Regions from separate parts of the Homo sapiens genome. Here regions 2, 3, 4 and 5 are each linked to region 1. Evidence: promoter capture Hi-C in human tissues and cell types (Jung and others, 2019). All regions are on one chromosome and are shown on one strand. Each heading gives the region's core, a stretch centred on a gene start or on the middle of the fragment in contact. The rest is flanking DNA. Distances are from core to core; before and after follow the strand shown.

The links. Contacts are between HindIII fragments. The study calls those that stand out against the background at their distance.
Region 2: a fragment that was not itself captured here is called in contact with the fragment with the promoter of TLN2 in region 1 in 1 of the 25 tissues and cell types used here (hippocampus).
Region 3: a contact is called between a fragment that was not itself captured here and the fragment with the promoter of TLN2 in region 1, in 1 of the 25 tissues and cell types used here (heart left ventricle).
Region 4: a fragment that was not itself captured here is called in contact with the fragment with the promoter of TLN2 in region 1 in 2 of the 25 tissues and cell types used here (aorta and thymus).
Region 5: a contact is called between a fragment that was not itself captured here and the fragment with the promoter of TLN2 in region 1, in 4 of the 25 tissues and cell types used here (bladder, hippocampus, mesenchymal stem cells and 1 more).

The regions. Positions count from the first base shown.
Region 1 is chr15:62,389,090-62,391,912 of GRCh38, reverse strand. TLN2 (talin 2) reads right to left here and starts at 1,363. Exons shown (of 59, transcript NM_015059.3): 1 at 1,228-1,363. RefSeq lists enhancers at 341-955, 1,874-1,943 and silencers at 1,134-1,463, 1,511-1,707. The HindIII fragment of the contact is 23,885 bases long and covers 1-2,823 here.
Region 2 is chr15:62,822,571-62,825,393 of GRCh38, reverse strand. All of the region lies in intron 54 of TLN2 (talin 2), which reads right to left. It overlaps MIR190A (microRNA 190a), which reads right to left and starts at 1,437; the gene lies at 1,353-1,437. The HindIII fragment of the contact is 5,416 bases long and covers 1-2,823 here.
Region 3 is chr15:62,731,983-62,734,805 of GRCh38, reverse strand. The region is part of intron 28 of TLN2 (talin 2); the gene reads right to left. Among named protein-coding and RNA genes, the nearest start is that of MGC15885, 88 kb to the right of the region's middle. The HindIII fragment of the contact is 4,474 bases long and covers 1-2,823 here.
Region 4 is chr15:62,675,731-62,678,553 of GRCh38, reverse strand. The region is part of intron 11 of TLN2 (talin 2); the gene reads right to left. All of the region lies in intron 3 of LOC105370855 (a long non-coding RNA gene), which reads left to right. Among named protein-coding and RNA genes, the nearest start is that of MGC15885, 32 kb to the right of the region's middle. The HindIII fragment of the contact is 4,628 bases long and covers 1-2,823 here.
Region 5 is chr15:62,654,888-62,657,710 of GRCh38, reverse strand. TLN2 (talin 2) reads right to left here. Exons shown (of 59, transcript NM_015059.3): 8 at 1,625-1,767. Among named protein-coding and RNA genes, the nearest start is that of MGC15885, 11 kb to the right of the region's middle. The HindIII fragment of the contact is 3,891 bases long and covers 1-2,823 here.

The DNA of each region.
Region 1 (2,823 bases), core at 114-2,613:
CCCCGGGACGCCGCCCAGCGCACGGCTCCGGCTGAGCACCCGGGCAGCGGTAGCTGCGGGGAAGAGGGGCGTGTTCCCTGAGCCTCGGAGCCCCAAGGCCGGGTCCAGGCGGGACAGAGGAAGGCGGCAAGCCCAGCACGCTGTCCGTGACGGCGGCTCTCGTTCCCAAGCCCCGCCGGCTGGCGTGGCGACGCGCTGTAGTCCGCGCGCCCTTGCGGGGACAGCAGTCGTGCGCGCCTTGTGCGGCCGCCTCCGCGCCTGCCTCGGCGCGCAAACTTTCCCGGCGACAACCGATCAGGCCTCTCCGACTGGGGCGCGGGGCTCTCCCCGGGACCCAGAAACTGCTCGCCCCCTCCCCTCCGCAGTCAAGACCCACTGAAAATATGGCGCCCTCGAAAGTCGTTCCTCGGTCCCCTCAGGGATCCCGAAATACTCGTCTCCAGGTCCCTCCAGCTTCCAATGGGCGCAAAATTTCAGCTCGTGGGACCGAGGAAGGAGAGGGAGCCGCTGAGTCTGTGTGAGGCCAGCCGCACTGGATGCAAAGCCTGGCCCCGCTCTCGGCCCGGCACTGCCCCCGTCGCTCAGCGGCCAGCAGTTCGCCCGTGGCGAGATTGCCAAGTAAAGGGCAGTCGTGGGATCGGCAGGTCTGAGTGTCCGGCACCGGAGAAGGAACTCCGCACTGGCGGGCTGTCTTAGCCCAGAGCCTCGGCGGGAGACTTGTTTGCAAAGTGGCGCTGGAGTCCCGGCGGCCAGTGCTGGAATGAAGCTGCTCCTCCAGCGCCAACTCTTCTGGCGCGGGGGCCCGGCTGGGGTCGAGGGGACACTCTATGCAGGCGGGGCCGCTTTTCAAAGCCCAGTTACCGGAAACCCAGCGAGAGCCCCGGAGGGGACCGGCTGCCCACGGCCAGGAATCCGCTCTCTGGCGCCGACTGCGAGGCTGTTTGCAAACCGCTGCGCCCGGGTCCGGTGCAGTGAAACATACATGTGCAATAGACAGGTGCATTAATTTCATTTTATTTTTATTTTCCTGCAAGAAGCCCTCCTAGACCATCAAATCTGGGAGCTTTACGGGTTTTTCCTGCATTGGCATCACTCACGAGAAGCAAAAGGGAGGAAAAAAAACCCCACATTTTCCTTCTGGAGAGGGGAGGGAAAAGACACGAGAAATTCATGCAACGTGCATGCAGCTGGAGGAAGAGGAAAACCCGAGTGAGCCGTGCGCCTTACCGGGGGATGCATTTACTGTCTCATTGCAGAGCGCCTGCCCGGGAGTGCAGCCCGCGTCCCCCCGCGCGCTGGGCGACCACTCCGCTCCCGCAGCCGCCTCAGCCGCTGCCGCCGCCGCTGGCTCCGGGCGCGGAACAAGAGCCGAGGGCGAGCGCGAGCGCACTGCCCGAGAGCGCTGGGAGGGCAGGAAGCGCGTCATCATTCGGGGACGGCGCGGCGCCGGTCCGGCCGCGGCGCCGCGCGGCACCGGGGTGGGCCGCCACCGAGGCTCAGGCGCCCGTCCTGGGTTTCCTCCCACGCGTGGTGATGCTGAAAGGGTCCGCGAGGGAAGGTGATGCACCGGCCGAGCTGTCACGGGGAAGGGAGGCTCGGGGTGACCCCGGCTTCCCAGAATTGGGGCTCTGCTGTGTAAAGGGGATGACTGCAGGACACAGCGTCTTGTAGGCTGGGGCCCCTAGGTCCGCAGAGTGCCCTCTCGGGACCTCTGGCCCGGTCCTGGGGGAAGCGAGCTGTGGCTAACTGGAGGGCCGTGGTGGGCGGTGGGGTCTTGCTGCGAAGCGGAGGGCCGTGACCCCAGGCGAGCCTGCTCCTTTCAGCACAAGGACCCTGAAACCTTGCTGGTCAGGTGTCACTTAGGTATTTAGAGAACGACTATAGGGATGAGTGGCGGTAGGGGCGTGCTGTGTTGATAAGAAGAAAATAATTCACTCCTGCTTGCCATGCCCTGAATAAAGTCAGTTATATACCTCTTACATTTACAGTCATTATTAGTAAATACTGTAAATACCATGGAACAATGTGAAGGTTATTCAAGGGGGTGAGGAGACAAAACACTATGTACCGTATGGTCCCGTTTTTAAAAACTGTGATTTATGGAGAAAGGCAGAAAAGACTGGATAGATAAACACCAATAAGTCTCTCAGTGATTGGTGGAATTGTGAGTAATTTTACTTTTTTATTTATCTGTAAGGGACACATTAGTAATTTAAAAAAACAAGAATTAGCCATGACCCCTTTACTCCTAGTACTTTGGGAGGCCAAAGCAGGAAGATCTCAAGCCCAAGGAGTTTAAGATCGGCCTGGGCAATATAGCGAGACCTTATCTCTACAAAAAAAATTAAAAATCAGCCGGGTGTGGGGGCGCATGCCTGTAGTCCCAGTTACTGGGGAGAATGGTGGGAGGATCGCTTGAGCCCGGGAGCTCGGGGGCTGCATGAGCGGTGATCCTACCACTGCACTCCAGCCTGGATGACAGAGCGGGACTCTGTCTCAAAAAAGAAAAAAAAAAGGAAAGACGACATTATTTCCATCCCAATACAGAATGGACCAGGAAATAGGTAGCAAATCTATTCAGTTACTCAAATGGAACTGCTGGCAACTTTTTAGTGTTTCTCAGAGAAAGAAACTGCTGTCACCATAAACCGGAGACTGAATTGATTTTGTAAATTGAAATTATTTTGAATAAGTCCGTTGGAACATTGGATAAGGCTGGACATTCTGTGAGAACAATACCCTGTCCTTAACCAGGCTGATGAACCGGACTGTATGTATCATAGCAGCAAAGATAACCTTAGGGTACAACTTTGTAACTTATTG
Region 2 (2,823 bases), core at 148-2,647, 430 kb before region 1:
AAGTCACCCAAAGAAACAAGAAAATCACATCAATTCAAACAACTGGGCTTCGTCTGCAGGTCCTTTTGAAACCATGTTTTTCTTTGTTCGTAATAACTTGCTGTCTCTTTTCCATGGCCATTTGCCATTTCAGTCAAACAATGTAACTGGACTCAAAACCAAAGCCGGTGTTCTCTAGCTGTGTGAAGGAGGGACTGATTGGGGCAGCATCTTGAAACCCGCCTGACAGAGCACCTGCCAACACACACAGATCGCTTCTCAATGGAGAAGGATTCCAGAGACAGGATCCATTATGTAACTCCAGAAGCCAGGACTCCAACATTACAGGACCCTCTCCTGTGTCATCACCTCTCTGATGTTGCTGTTGGTGACCCTGTCACTATGCATTCACCTGTAAGCAATGTGGCAATGACTTCTAGACACAGTAAGGGGAAGCTTTCATGACTACCTGTTTAAACCATTTGCTTACACCTTTTCTCCTCCAAAACATTGAGAACAGTAGTTCTCTTTCCAGAAAGCAGTGCTCACAAAGTATTTTGTTTGTTGAGAGAACTCAGAATGAACTCACACATACTTCACAGGCTTTTCTATAAGGAAGAGGTCAAAACCAACCAAAGAAGGCTGTTATGTACCAGAAAAAATGTTTTCTATATCATAATCCCAAACTTCCTGCCACAGTCAATTAGGCTATGATATTACTTTCCGATTGTTGGCTTATTCTAAATATTACCAACCTCCACTGACAAGTTAACCTATAACAGGAAATTCAAGAGTTCAGTCAACATTATATTACCTTCATGAGATATATTTAGTCCTATATCCAAGGTTTGTACAAAGCTCACTGACTCAGTATCCATGCAGCTGGTATGGAGGATTTGCTTTATACATTCTGTTACTGTGAGTGGAAAGGGAAGTCATAGAAAACTGATCTGTGCTCCTTGAATTTTTGCTGAAACCCTGACATGAACTTCTAAATTGAAGATCAGGATAAAAATGAACCAAAATGAAACATGAATCTAGATGTGTTTGAGGCTATAATCCTGACCTTTATTCTGTGTCACAGACATGGGTTGGAACCGTTTTTTCCACCAAGCATATTGAATTCCTTAAGGATTCATCACTGCACAAAACTAAGCCACACAGAATACCCCAGGCTCTTATGAAACATCAACACTTATTGTTTCTATAATAAGCAAGTAATCCAGTAATACTGATACAGGTCTCAAATGCTATAAGAAGAAATGGAAGATAACATGAATTGTAATGAGTGCTCCATCTTCTAAATCTACTTGTGATTTTAACGTGTTCTTTCCTGTTGCCTTATAAACTTTATTAGGAACCCCCGGAGACAGGGCAAGACACTGTAGGAATATGTTTGATATATAGTTGGATTAAATAACAACCTAATATATCAAACATATCACACAGAGGCCTGCAGAAAAGGCATCCAGGTTTGACTGAGCTCGAGACTAGGCACAGTATTGAAGGTTACGGCTGCAGGGGGTGGTCACTTTTGCAGCAACTCCGATAACTGTCTTTGGAGCACAAGTCTGCCTGCAGATGTGGAAACGGCGCCATTAACAATACTGTCAGCACATGCACCAGCGCTCACTGACATTCTCATCTCCCCAGGTGAACAGCAGATTCAACGGTGCATGTCTGGGAGATCCCAGGCAAAAAGTGATGCTTAAGTTTTAAGAGCCTGAGGTGGAAATGTACCAGAATCATCATCAAAGACCATGAGCCATTCTCCTTTAAAAACAGGCAACCTGAGACGGTGGTGAGCAGAGCATTTTAGACAAAATTACTGTCTCTCCCCAAACTCTTCCTGAAAGCAGTGTGAATACTCCCCAGAAGGAACACACATCCATTTTATACTGAAGGCATGTGTGTGTACCAGGGTAGGGTTATAGGGATGTAATAAGCAATTGTTTACTGACAGTACCCTGAGGATTTTTTTAAGGTTTTGGGAGAGAATGGAGAGAAGTGATTCAACTCAAAAGACTGGCTGATTTTGGTGCAGATTGTTGTTATTGTTTTTTAATTGGGGAAATAAATTCCTTTATAAAGGCAAGGAAGATATTTCATGCAAAAGTTATTGCAATGTGCCCTATTAGGCACAAAAACTATGGTTTGGGTTGCAGGTTTTCCAAAACAGTTTCATAGATAATATCCACCTCTGGCCATCAGGCAGAGAAAGACTTCAGACCATTGTGAAGCATTCTAGAAGTACCCATCACCCTTCCTAATACGATGGGAGTGAGCTAAGGTAGGAACCCTCAAACAAAGGATTCACATCATCAGTTATGTTAACCTTGACCTTGGCCGAAGGACTCCTTGGCTTTCCTGTAAAAACCCTCAATGTAAACACAAAGGCTATATGATCCTAGAGTACTGTAGGGAGTCCTCACAGGCCTACTTCAGCAGTCATTAATTTTTAAGGTGCTGTTATTTTTTAAACCTTTGTTTTATAAAATGTTAAAACACAGACCCTTCCATCATCCCAATTCCATCATCATTCTTGTACATTCCCTACTTATTTTCTTCATCTGTGAGTTTTTAGAGTTGTAATCATAATAAGTACATAATTCTGCATCCTTTCTGTTATACCATGAGCATTTTCTTCGTGCTACACAGTCCTAGCAACCATTATTTTTCATAGCTGCATAATATTATAGCTGCATAATATTCCTTCGAGGAGTAGCTCTAAGGGCACACATAAACTACAAATGGCCTTTGTGGGACTAGACAAGCCTTCTCTGACAATGGGGTGGGAAACAGGGGCTGGTATGGACTGAAACTGCCACCCAGGGCCATACATAG
Region 3 (2,823 bases), core at 122-2,621, 340 kb before region 1:
CAGTGCTGCAGACTTGCTAATATGTAAATATTTAGTAAATCACACAGCTGGGATATAAAACTACGATCTAATCAAGGTAAATGACAAAGCTGCCAATCTATCATTTATCCCATGGCACTTCTGAGTACAGCTGGCAGAATAAAAGAATTTTAAACTAAGTGCTTTTTATGGCAGAGGAGAAGCCCAGAAGAGAAAGCACAAAGGTGAACAAAGCTAAGGTGAAGGAGAGAAACAATCTGAGGAGAATGGTCATTCCATTTTACGCTTAAGCTTTTGGCACAGGGTTGAAGGATGCTGTTGCTCAGAAAAGCGCCAGATGTAGTTAAGACCTCATCTGGCTCTGGCTCTGCTGCTGATTAGTTGTGTGGTCTAGACTGCTGCCTTTTCCCTCTGGGCCTCCCTTTCTCACGGGTTTTAGGAGAGGCTGAGTTCCTAGCTCTGACCATTGCAGATTCTAGGCTGTGATTTCTAGACCTCTCCTCTTGTCTTCCCATTTGTCATATGGACTCTTGAATCCACTTCTATTTGAGTCATATGTAAGTTTGGAGGAGTAAATCATTTATCATATGTAATTAGAAAAGACATGTTTATGCAAAACCCATTTAGTGAAAAACCTTTCATAGACTCATACAATTTAAAAAAACGCAGAAATCCGAAGAGCTAAATTCCAAGAACAACCTGGTCCATCCCATGTGTTTTCTGCTAAGGACTCACTGTGAAATCTCAAAGCACATCAAGGATCTTCTTGAGAGAGATGAGGTTTCTGGAAACAGGAAGCCCATACCATCAAAAGGACGAAAGAAGGCCACGAGAGGTCAGAAAGCCCAGTGAACACCCATGGCGGTGCATGGCTGAACGCACAGCAACATTCTCAATGGTCATCACTACAGGATCAGATCCCCAAGCAAACAACACCCACCGAATGGAACTGTTCCTGTAGTCAAAGTGTGCACCACAATACCAGAACCACCAGTGTGAAATACTAAAGCAGATTTCTGTTTCAATAACCACAGTCCTTTGAAAACACAGATTACTTTCACAGTATTCTTGCCATCTGGATCTTAAATGATACTTAGTAACAGAGTCTTATACAGGCATATCAAGTGATATCAAATATAGTAGCATTCTACATAATGGTTGCTATTCTTCACCAGAATTCATGTGGATTGTGTATCCAGACAGTATTGGGCCACATAGCAACCTCAGAAGACAAAGACCAGGTATGACACAAATCTTTTATCTGTTCCAAAGTATTTACAAAGGGTTATGTGTAATTGTAATCAGCTATACAGAAATATATTTTGAAGACTGCATTGGCCAAACAGAAACACACTTGCATTAGAATACAGCCCAGTGGCAGCTCACATGCAACTTCTGAAAACCCCACACACCTCAATTATGGACAAGGAAACTGAGACCCATGGAGAAGTTTTCCACACACGCTCTCTCTTTCCTTGCTTCCCATCCATTCTCCAACCTTCCTGAAACTGCCTTCAACAAGGAGAATAGTGATCTCCTTATTCCTAAAGCTAATGGATGCTTAAGTCTCCCATTTGACATGACTTTCTGGGCAGCAACTGTGTCTATGGCTCTAGAGACATCCCTCTCTCCTGGTTTCCCTGCCCTCTCCACAGCTCCATGTTCTTCTTTCTTTCAAAGATTTCCATTGCCAGTTTCCTCCCTAACCAGCCAGGTTCTTCAGGATTACAACTGATAAGCTGTCTCTCACTCTACCACTCCCTGTTGGCAAAATTATCTACTTCCAATCATTATCATTTTACCAATAATTTTCAAATCTGTATCATCCAGCCCAGCCTTCTCTACTGAGTTTCAGAGCCAAAGATTTAGCTGCCTAATGATGCTCTCACTGCATATTCTCCAAGCACTTCAAATGGAATATATCTAGTGCCGAACCCAGCATTCCTGAGCTTCACCTCCCCTGCTCCTACCAATGGTCCTGTGTTCCCACCAGTGATTCATACAACTCTTCACTCAGCTATAAGGCCAAACACTTGGAACCGTTCATGTTACCATCTCCACCAACTTCTAACCAGTCACCAAGAACGATTGGGTTTTTGCTTCTTCAATCGACCACTTCGTCTCCACTGTAGGACACTACCATCTCTTACCTGGATTAATGCAACAGCCTGCTTGCCTACCACTTTGTTTCCGTCCAATCCATTCTACACACAGGAGGAAGGGCGACCTATACAAAAAGCAATCTGAACTGTGTCCACAGATGAAAAACATGTTCACATATTCTTCAATTAAAGTATAACTCATTTATTTTAGCTTATGAGGCCCTTTAGGATCTGACCCTGGCCTAACTTTTCAGCGTTATCCTCTTATTTCTCACTTACTCTTTGCCTATTACTTTCACCATCTTCAGTTCCTTCCATCATCCTTCTCTCATCTTTAAGGCATCATACATGCAGTGCTCACTTATGCAACTGCCTTCCAGTGCCTGCCAAAATTAAATGGGGCTACTTCTAGGCTGTTTTTCAGACACCAACTAGACAGCATGTCTTCCTGGGTGTTATTGGTATGAGATGACGCAACATGTAAAGTAGTCTTTTCTCTACTAAATATGCATTTCATCATCTACACAACAGCTGGCAAGATTTCGGGAAAGTGTAGACATTTTTGAAATTTAAATCTCTCATATTACCCTATGATTTTCTAAGAATTTTATCATACCTTTCCTCCTCCTAGAATGCTAAAGGAGTCCTAAACAATCCACAAAGCCCTCGCTAAGTGTCAATTCTGCTCTGAAAATTTCCCCTACCTTCCCATTGGGATCAAATTTTGCATTCTTATTATTGC
Region 4 (2,823 bases), core at 219-2,718, 290 kb before region 1:
CAGCCTGTTATAGATTTCTCTCTAGCATTTCTATTAAGTATGATACTAATGAGAGGTTTGATACTCATGAACCTCTATCATGGTGAGCAAGCACACTTATATTCCAGCATTTTAAAGAATTTTTAATAAAAGGATGTTGAGTTTTATCAAACACCTTAGTGGCTTTATATAAAATAGTTATATGATATCATCTTATTTAAAGTCTTGATGTGATTCAGGTTCATTAATTCTTAATATTGACTCATTCCTGAATTTTTTAGCTATACCACTTTTAAAATAAGGCAAACTATGGTCACATAAATTATATTAAAAACAATTATAAAATAAAATGTCATACTAATGGGCCCACTGAGCAAAACACTGGAGTGAGCAATGTGCTATTAACATTGTAGAAAGCAACAAAAATAAAATTAATAACAATTTGAATATTTAATATGTATATAGAAGTTGCAAGTGCTTGGCCAGGGGTGGTGGCTCACGCCTGTAATCCCAGCACTTTGGGAGGCCAAGGCAGGAGGATGACCTGAGGTAGGGAGTTCGAGACCAGCCTGACCAACATGGAGAAACCCCATCTTTATCAAAAATACAGAATTAGCTGGGCATGGTGGTGCATGCCTGTAACCCTAGCTACTCGGGAAGCTAAGGCAGGAGAATCGCTTGAACACAGGAGGCGGAGGTTGTGGTGAGCCGAGATCGTGCCATTGCTCTCTAGCCTGGGTGAATCTCCGTCTCAAAAAAAAAAAAAAAGTTGCAAGTGCTGCCTACTTTCTTAATCCTTTCTTCTCTTCAAAGAGATGTAATTTTTAAAAAAAAATAAAGAGAAAGAAGGGAAAGAAAGAGAGGAAAGGGAGAGAGAAGGAAGGAGGAAGGAAGAAAGGAAAAAAAAGTCTACCATGTTCTTGTTTTGCCTTAAATAATTGTGTAAAAGGAGATTTGGTTTGATCAAACCTGCAAGACCCTGCTATAATGAGAAGATCTTTGCTCTCTCTCAAATTATCCTGGTGACCATGGACCGATTTTTCTTAGGTTCCAAATTGTCACTGAAGAACAAATTTATTTTTTCTACAATTTGGTGTTCAACTTCTCTTCCTAATTACAGATTTCTGTATGTTCTTTATCATCCTAAATTTACTGACCTACATGCAAGAGGCACAACAGTTTTTTAGCACGTCACTGAAACTGACTGTGTGAAGCCTGATGGTATTAATGGAAGATGATCTGAATGCAAGAGATGAATTTAATACTCAAAGGACTACAGGGAAACTCAAGAAAATAAATGGAAATTGATGCCATTATCAGTGGACATGATGAAAATTTGTTTAATCTTTGTCCCTGCAAGGCATTGGAGCTCATCTACTACTGGTTGCCCTTCACAATAATGAATGAAAAGCACGCCTTCTAAAATGAGCAGATCTCCCCATGTGTTCAGGGCACAGATGGGAAGCTAGAACGGTGGAAGCAGGTGACTACCTCTCAAATGGGGTCACTCCGGCTAAGGCAGTACAGCTAGAGGTTGGGAACACCATCTGTGAATCAGGGAAACGTGAATTCAAGTCCTGGCTTCTTCAGTTACTAGCCTTATGGCCCCCACTGAATCAATGGATCTAGCTGGGGCTCTGTGTTCTCACTTATACAAGAAGATAGGGTGCGGTGGCTCACGCCTGTAATACTAGCACTTTGGGAGGCCAAGGTGGGCGGACTGCCTGAGCTCAGGAGTTCAAGACTAGCCTGGGCAACACGGTGAAACCCTGTCTCTACTAAAATACAAAAAATCAGCCGGGTGTGGCAGCATGCGCCTGTAGTCCCAGCTACTTGGGAGGGTGAGGCAGGAGAATGGCTTGAACCCAGGAGGCAGAGGTTTCAATGAGCCACGATCGCGCCACTGCACTCCGGCCTGGGCGACAGAGTGAGACTCCGTCTCCAAAAAACAAAAGAAGATAGTAGTAGTAGTTTTACCCTTGGGTTGTTGATAGCTTTGAATGAGATAAGCTTGATGGATGGCTGTTTACTAAACATTATTGCTGTTATTATTAATATTGGTAAGTGGAGTCACTGTTACCTAGATGGCACCAGTGCCATTTAAATACTCACTGATCTTTTAAAACTGCCACTAAATGTAAAAGATTCGACCTCTCAATTATTTTTCTTAAAAACAAGGTGACTGATGTATACGTTCTTCATTGCAAAGGCCCCAGCGATTTTGGATGTAAAACTGAGAGCTAGTTTGGTTAATGTATTAATAACTAATCAGCATGCAGTATATGGCTTTCTGATGCATAACATCTTGGTATCTCCTCTCTCCAAATGAGGCAGCTTGCTCCGATGAGGAGTGGGGTCAAGAAAAACATCTTAGAGGACAACGTAACTTCTTCTTTTGCAGTTCTCTTTGGCTGTGGGGAAAGACACCTTCTTAGTCTGGTCAGTTTTGTCCTTCCTACTTCAGTCCCTGGATGCAGCCGCAACACGGCTGGTTTGCTTCCATTTGCAGAAAGCAACACAAGAAGACTGACTATAAGTTAGAGCTTTCTCCACGGCCCCAGGCGAGAGGCCAAAGGGGTCAAAGCAAAACAAGCAGAAATCTGTGAAACCTAATAGTTAAACAACTAAACAGCGTATCACTTTCCTGAGGTTAGGAAAAGCAAAGGGGTAACAAAGATAACCAGAGGATTTGTCAGTCAAGTGAAGATGACACCCATCAAGGGCCAACCTGGACTTGCTCACAGGTACAATTTCAAAAACACGCCTCTTTTCCTCTAGTAGGAAAACAGACAATTCCCATGAAAACAGATCTGAAGGCCGTAAAATCCCAAGCCCTGTCTTAAA
Region 5 (2,823 bases), core at 125-2,624, 270 kb before region 1:
TGACGCATTCCCATGGCCCAGTACACCCTCTGTGGAGCAGGGGACAGTGCCAGCCAACCCACGGTGACATGTGCAGGACACAGTGGATGATCACCGCATGGGAGAAAACTAAGGCAAAAGAAAAACAAACTTTTGTCCAAAATGGCCTGTAGATGGAAAACATTAGAGGTGTCCAGTACAGCAAAAGCAAAGTCTGATGACAGTCCAGAAAGGCAGAAGTGATTATAAAAAGAGGCAAAGGAAACTCATATGAAATGATCAGCTTCAAAGAGGCCAAAAGACAAATACAGTGTACTTTTTACAATCCTAAATCACAAAGCTAGCTAATCAAATATCTAGAGGTAAAATCAACCCAACCCCCATCCCCAGATAAAAACCAATGTAATAGAGGAAGAGAAAGAAAGGCGATAGGCACACACACACACAGACAAGAACTCAATACTCAAGACAGCAGGGGAAATGACAAGCGAATGCATCCTAAAATGGGGAGCTTGTTGTGTCTGAACTCCTCCTCCTCCCAGTTTCTCCATCCATCACTGCTGTTGCTTCCCCCCCCCACCTTTTCAGCCTTTCCTTTCTCTAAATGACCCCCAGATCACCCTAAGATGGACACTCCAAGCTATCACTCTAAGCCTTAAGCCAACAAGCATCTTTTCACTGCCCTGCTATCTCTCTCCTTTTGGCCTCCCCACTTCTTTCCTCTCAGCCCTCTTTCCATGCCATCCTTCCGTCCACTAACTCAGGGGTCAGGAAACTTCTCTAAAGGCCAAATAGTAAACATTTCAAACCTCCTGGGCCACACAGTCTCTGTCACTGAGTTCTGTCACCAGAATGCGAGAACAGCCACAGAAGATATGTGTAACAATTACATAACCCTCAAGGGGATTTATCAATATGTAATACTTGAATACATAAGCTGTGTTCCAATACAACTTTATTGACAAGTACAGGCAAAAGGCATGACTGTAGTTTGCCAACCCCTACATTATTTCTATGGGCAGATAGATGGATAAATAACGAGAGGAAAGGGAGGGAGGGAAGGAAAGGAAGAAAGGAAGCTGGTAGGAGAGGACAAAGATGGATGATGTTTTCCTTGAGCCACAAGAAACCTTGGGGACAATCTAGTGCAATCCACATCTTACATACTGGGAAACCGCAACTCAGATATGTTAAATGACTTGTCAGTTTTAACAATTAGTTAAGGGTAAAGACATGAAAGGTTATTGAGAGGATATCTTCCAGTTAATGAGAGTCCTGATTTCTGACCAACATTCTCTTGCATTCTAAGATGCCAGCTAAGAAACCTTTAGTGCACTTGAAATGGTGAGCCAGTTAAGTGAAATACAACTGTCCCTCAAAGCCCGGCAGAGAGGGACACAGTGTTGGCTACCAGGACACAATCTGGGAAGCCATAGGGAGGCCCTACTCCGGATGGTCAGCTGCTCATCCAGAATATCAACCTGCACCACAACCAAACACATGCGGGGACCCACGAGCAGCGCCTGCTGGAAACGACGCCATAAATGTGGCAGAAGCCAGCGCCGCCCTCCTGCTCGCCACAAGATACAGCCAGGAGCTTCCTGCAATCTCACCAACCTCAGTGTCTGAGCAGTAAATACTGTACCTGAACATAAAGCAAGTTCAGCTGCACGGGGTCTCTCGAATCTACATTCTGATCAGAGTAAAAGAACTTCCGTCTAAGCAGCAACGTTTCGTTTTCATCTACTCCTTGTTCTCTGAATGTTCGGCTGTGATCCAGCCAATTTACTGCAACACAACAAGACATATAAGAGAACTGTGTTTATTTTTCCTGTTAATTAAAGGGAATTTACCAAAAGAGCAGTGTGATGCAGATTTCTGTATCTCTGATACTTAGTTATAGTAGTTATAGTTATTTCTTATTTTAGAACTATGGTTTTTAAGCTTTGCAAAATAATTTCACATCTACCAAAGGACCAGCCAAAATGGAAATGAGGGAGAAAATTCCCATGCCTGAAACACAAGAGGAAGGAAAAGCATCAGAGGCTTCGGGGAGTGACACGTTCTCTCCACTGACGCATTCCCATGGCCCAGTACACCCTCTGTGGAGCAGGGGACAGTGCCAGCCAACCCACGGTGACATGTGCTACAATGAATGTATAATATGCTGCCTCTCCGGTGGCAGGGTGGAGGGCAGATACTCCAGTCTCACCTAATAAAGTGATCTTGAGGCTATGAGCATAGTAAGTTACCTCTGATCTCAAGTAGAAAAGAGGAAGAAAATGAAAGTATGGAGGGAGTAGCGGAGACAACACTAAAGGGGGGCTGGCAGAACCGTGCCATGGGCCAGCTTAAATCTCAGCCATTCTGAGAACCCTGTCCTCACATCTATGTGCACAGGATTCGACCACTCCCCTCTACACTTTCACAGCTCTCACTCCAACACTCCTCTCTGGGCTTCAAACACATTGTGGGTTAAGTCCTTATCACCAGCGTCTCTAGATTATAAGCAACCTGAGTACACAAAACGTGTCTCCCACATCTCCCACAGTACCTGGGAGAGTATTTTGCACATAATAATAAATCCTTGGGATTTTTCTACTAAAGTCTCTTGAAAAGAAGTATATAACTGCAAATCAAATTAGGGAGTAAGAAAAAAAAAACACAGAAAGGGTGAGAGGAAATGAGAGCCTCACAGAAGATCAATAAACACAATGGCAATAATGATGTCATCCCGATACAGCCACAAGAACAAATACAATGAAAGGAGGAAAGAGGCCAGGAAGTCTAGGTGGACTGGGTAATAAATTAAGACCCTTTCAGTGGAGGGTCAGGCAGCAAGGT